2 separate regions of the Homo sapiens genome follow, and region 2 is linked to region 1. The links are contacts of gene promoters, found by promoter capture Hi-C in human tissues and cell types (Jung and others, 2019). All regions are on one chromosome and are shown on one strand. The core of a region is centred on a gene start or on the middle of the fragment in contact, and the rest is flanking DNA. Distances in the headings are between cores, read along the strand shown.

The links. Contacts are between HindIII fragments. The study calls those that stand out against the background at their distance.
Region 2: a contact is called between a fragment that was not itself captured here and the fragment with the promoter of TES in region 1, in 1 of the 25 tissues and cell types used here (dorsolateral prefrontal cortex).

What each region holds. Positions count from the first base shown.
Region 1 is chr7:116,209,163-116,211,951 of GRCh38, reverse strand. TES (testin LIM domain protein) reads right to left here and starts at 1,413. Exons shown (of 7, transcript NM_015641.4): 1 at 1,218-1,413. The coding sequence starts at 1,244. RefSeq lists an enhancer at 485-724 and silencers at 1,085-1,174, 1,315-1,514, 1,269-1,531, 1,565-1,694. The HindIII fragment of the contact is 11,100 bases long and covers 1-2,789 here.
Region 2 is chr7:117,107,134-117,109,922 of GRCh38, reverse strand. All of the region lies in intron 2 of ST7 (suppression of tumorigenicity 7), which reads right to left. It also overlaps a transcript of ST7-AS2 not described here. Among named protein-coding and RNA genes, the nearest start is that of ST7-AS2, 37 kb to the left of the region's middle. The HindIII fragment of the contact is 5,678 bases long and covers 1-2,789 here.

The DNA of each region.
Region 1 (2,789 bases), core at 164-2,663:
GTTCTTGGATACCTTTTTGAGTGCCTGAGAATTTTAGTCGCAAGGAATGAAAAAAACTGTTTTCTCATTTCGAGTTTTTATTGGTCAATAGCTTCCTAACCGAAAACTCTGCAGTCCTAACACAATATTTTGTATCCATTTTCAAAAATCCAGTTCTGGGCATAAAATAGAATTAATGCTCAAGTCAAAAACTTTGTGTTTAGAAGATAAAATATTAGGAACCATGAGTATGAGAAAAACAAAAACTGTTTTCTGTATTTTTCCCTTCCTCTCTCTGCAAAACTTCTCTATTTGATAAGGGACAGCTAGCTTAAATTTACCACAAAGTAAAACATGAGCAAATCCCCTGGAACGAGGAGAACTTTCGCACAGGGCAATTCACTCGAATGTGACATCAGCATTCCTTCTGAGTCATAGTCTGGTCCCCACCCTTTTCTCCCAGGCGACACCAGGCTCCGCATAACCCGGGAGTGGCTCAGGTAGGGCCGTCGGTTCCAGTGCCTGCGAGGCAGCAGCCAAGCTGAAAATGTCTCCCTGCGCTGAGACGCTGGTGACAACCGCCCTTTGGGACTACCTGCCAAACAAGGAGAATGCGCTCTTTGACAGATAATTCCCTAAGAGGGAGGCACTGCCTCGGTCGGTAGACAAGTAATGAATGACCGAAAAAAAAATCACATTAGAAGTTATCACCAGCACGGGTGCGAAGGCAGTGCATTAAATCAACACTCATTTTAGAGCGCCCCAGACAGCCCAGCCGGAAGGGAGGAGATCAGAGCTGTCAAAGCACAGCAGAGCCCCAAACCACAAAGGCTTAATGAAATTCAACTTCCTGAGCCAGGAAGTGTCACGGTCTCGCCCGCACTCGCCCTAAGCTCGTCCTTTCCTTTTGAGGAGGCACAGGCAGAGCTGAAACATCTTAAGTAAAGTTTCCAACACCTACAACCACTGGGATTCCGTGAGACTGGAGAGAAGAGTCCCGCGCCCGCCCTCGCTCGCGCTTCCAATTCTGTCGCTCCCGAGTGTGGGGAGCTGGCGGGGCCGCCGAGCACCTCCTCTACCCAGGGGGCCAGGTCCCTGGGCCCGGGGCACCGCAGACCCAGAGCCGGGCTCACACCGGGGGGCCCGCGAGCCCCACCCACCTCGGCACCTCCGGCCGCCGCGCGCCGCGCGACCCGCGCAGGTGAAGCAGCCGCCGCCCGCCACGAGCGCCCCCCTACCTTCTTCACTTTGTTTTCCAGGTCCATGTTAACGCGTCCTATGGGTCCCCTCCTCCTCCTATCCGGGATCCCACGGCCGGGTTCAGCTGGCCTCCGGCTCCGCTGCGAACACGGGAAACCTGCGGAACTCCCGCGGCGCCGCTCAACAGCCACTCGCCCGGCGCCGTCGAACTTCCGCCGCCCAGTCCGCCGCAGCGGGCCTGCGGCCCGGACCCGGGAACAAAGGGGGCCGGGCAGCCAATGGCAGCCGGGCAGCTCCGGGCCGCCGCCAATCACCGAGCGCCGCACGCACCTTCGCGGCCCGAGCGCGGCGCTGGCAAGGTGAGAGGCGGGGCGGCGTCCGAGGCGGCGCCCTGCTGGGCAAGCTCAGTGACCCTGACCTGGTCTCCGAAGGGATTCTCTGGGCGTCCACGGGCCGGCTTCTAAAGAGCTGGGATCCCCAGCCTCCCTCTAGCTGAAGATGGAGAAGAACTTTTTCCATTTGGCAATTTGTACCTGTGTTTGCCCAGGACTTTTTATTTGGGTCAAGGGGAATAGTTATCCCAATACTAACTTCTCAGTTTATTTTCAGGGTAAAGAGAGAAAAAAAAGAGAGAGAGAGAGATTGTAGGGATCGTTAGGGATTCCTGTGATGGACCTTGGGCACTAAATTCAATATTGCGTTGTGGAGATGCCCTTTCCTCAATTGCTTTTTTCCACAATCCCAAATACTGTCAAGAAACCGTATCTTACATCCCTAAAGTCAGCGAAGATTCTTAGATTGTTTTCTGAGCATTGGGTTGTTCAAAAGTAAAGATGATGTGAATCACTTCAGAAACAGGTTGTGTCATTCCTTTGGAAGCAGAGGGTTGCCCTTTGTCTCTGTGTGAGATGGTGCTAGGCCTATCGCGTGCTCAGGCTTTGATGAAGCAGAGTCATCACATTGGTGCACCAAAGCTGAATTCATTTCATGCCCTAATTCAGGAGCAATTGCATCTAATACCATCAGATTGGTCGGTCTGGAAGGGAGCCTAACGATTACTTAGTCTAGCTTCCTCACTTTGCAGGGAACTGAGGACTCCAGAGGTGCAGGGACCTGCCTAATGTCTTAGCCTGTTGGGGACAGAGGCATTGCTCATGAATCTAAACAACTTCTCAAAGATGTTTGGGGCTGGAAGCACAGCATGTTGACTAAGGAAAAAGAGCAGTCAATTTTCTTCAATTTGTGGTTATGGCAAAAAATAACATTGCCCAGACAGCAGGTGACCTAATTTGGCACCTACTTTTAAAAATAACAAAACAATATAAAACAAACAAACAAAAATTCCCTAATAATGCAGATATTCAGGTCCAGATGTATGTCTGCCTTGCCTCGAGAAATTTGGTAGCTAAAAATATCCAAAATTCATTTTAGCCAATACTTGCAACTCTGCTTACTTGATTATTTGTTAACACAGAGCATTGATTTATAATGTGCATGTTTCCTTTATCCTATTAAGAATTAAAACTGAAATTACCAAAATGAGTTATGCATTTTTCTTTTCAGCTGATGTAAAACTTTTCTGTGTCATTTTCCCAAACCACCTTGAAAGG
Region 2 (2,789 bases), core at 172-2,671, 900 kb before region 1:
TTTATATGGTGTATCACATTTATTTACTTGCATATGTTAAACCATCCCTGCATCCCTGGTATGAAACCCACTTGTTCATGGTGAATTATCTTTTTGGACATGCTGTTGGATTCAGTTAGCTAATATTTTACTGAGAATTTTTGTATCTACGTTCATCAGAGATATTGATCTGTAGTTTTATTTTTTTGTTATATTGTTTCCTGGTTTGGGCATTAGGGTGATACTGGCTTCACAGAATAATTTAGGGAGGATTCCTTCTTTATTTTTTGGAATAGGGTCAATAGGATTGGTACCAATTCTTCTTTGAATGTCTGATAGAATTCAGCTGTGAGTCTATCTGGTCCTGGACTTTTTTTTGTTGGTAACTTTTTAATTACCATTTCAATCTGTTCAGACTTTCAATTTCTTCCTAGTTTAATTTAGGATGGTTGTATATTTCCAGGAATTCATCCATCTCTTCTAGGTTTTCTAGTTTATGTGTGTAAAGGGGTTCAAAGTAGCCTTGAATTATCTTTTGTATTTCTGTGGTATCAGTTGTAATATCTCCTATTTCGTTTCTAATTGAGCTTATTTGGATCTTCTCTCTTCTTCTCTTGCTTAATCTCACCAATGGTCTATCAATTTTATTCATCTCTTCAAAAGAATTGGCATAGAAGGGACATACTTAAGGTAATAAAAGCCATCTCTGACAAACCCCCAGCCAACATTATACTGAACGAGGAAAAGTTGAAAGCATTTACCCTGAGAACAGGACAAGGATGCCCACTTTCACCACTTCTATTCAACATAGTACTGGAAATCCTAGCCACAGCAATCAGACAAGAGAAAGAAATAAAGGGCATTCAAATCGGTAAAGAGGAAGTCAAACTGTCAAGTGTTTGCTGATGACATGATCATATACCTAGAAAACCCTAAAGACTCATCCAAAAAGCTCCCAGGAGTGGTAAATGAATTCAGCAAAGTTTTAGGATACAAAATTAATGTACGCAAATTAGTAGCCCTGCTATACACCAACAGCGACCAAGCTGAGAAGCAAATGAAGAACTCAACCACTTTTACAGTAGCTGTAAAAATAAAAAAATAAAAAAATACTTAGGAATACACTTAACCAAGGAGGTGAAAAACCTCTACAAGGAAAACTACAAAACACTGCTGAAAGAAATCACAGATAACACAAACAAATGGAAACACATCCCATGCTCATGGATGGGTAGAATCAACATTGAGAAAATGACCATACTGCCGAAAGCAATCTACAAATTCAATGCAATTCCCATCAAAATACCACCATCATTATTCACAGAACTAGAAAAAAACAACCAAAAAATTCATATGGAACCTAAAAAGAGCCTGCATAGCCAAAGCAAAACTAAGCAAAAAGAACAAATCTGGAGATTCACATTACCTGACTTCAAACTATACTATAAGGCCACAGTCACCAAAACAGCTTGGTACTAGTATAAAAACAGGCATATAGACCTATGAAACAGAATGAAGAACCCAGAAATAAAGCCAAATACTTACAGTCGACTGATCTTGGACAAAGCACAGCAAAAATATAAAGTGTGGAAAAGACACCCTATTCAACAAATGGTGCTGGGATAATTGGCAAGTCACATGAGTAAGAATGAAACTAGATCCTCATCGCTCACCTTATACAAAAATCACCTCAAGATGAATCAAAGACTTAAATCTAAGACCTGATACCATAAAAGTTCTAGAAGATAACATTGGAAAAACCCTTCTAGACATTGGCTTAGGCAAAGACTTCATGAACAAGAACCCAAAAGCAAGTGCAACAAAAAAAAAGATAAATAGATGGGACTTAATTAAACTAAAAAGCTTCTGCACAGCAAAAGAAATAATCAGCAGAATTAACAGACACCCCACAGAGTGGCAGAAAATCTTCATAATCTACACATCTGACAAAGGACTAATATCCTGAATCTACAAGGATTTCAAATAAATCAGCAAGAAAGAAAAAAATCCCTTCAAAAAGTGGGCTAAGGGCCGGGTGCAGTGGCTGACGTCTACAATCCCAGAACTTTGGGAGGCCGAGGCAGGTGGGTCACCTGAGGTCAGAAGTTGGCCAGACCAGCCTGGCCAACATGGTGAAACCCTGTCTCTAACAAACACAAAAAATTAGCCAGGCATGGTGGCACATGCCTGTAATCCCAGCTACTTGGGAGGCAGAGGCAGGAGAATTGCTTGAACCCAGGAGGCAGAGGTTGCAGTGAGCCGAGATTGTGCCATTGCACTCCAGCCTGGGCAACAAGAGTGAAAATTCTGTCTCAAAAAAAAAAAAAAAAAAAAAAAAAAGAAGTGGGCTAAGGACATGAATAATAGATAATTCTCAAAAGAAGATATACGAATGGCCAATAAACATGAAAAAAATGCTCAACATCACTAATGATCAGGGAAATGCAAATCAAAACCACAATGCAGCACCACTTCACCCCTGCAAGAATGACCATAATAAAAAGTAAAAAAATAATAGATATGGGTATGGATGTGGTGAAAAGGGAATACTTTTACACTGCTGGTGGGAATGTAAACTAGTACAACCACTATGGAAAACACTGGAGATTCCTTAAAGAACTAAAAGTACATCTACCATTGGATCCAGCAATCCCACTACCAGGTACCTACCCAGAGGCAAAGAAGTCACTATACAAAAAAGATACTTGTACACGCATGTTTATAGCAGCACAATTTGCAATAGCAAAAATATGGAACCAGTCCAAATGCTCATCAATAAGTGGATAAAGAAAATGTGGTGTGTGTGTATG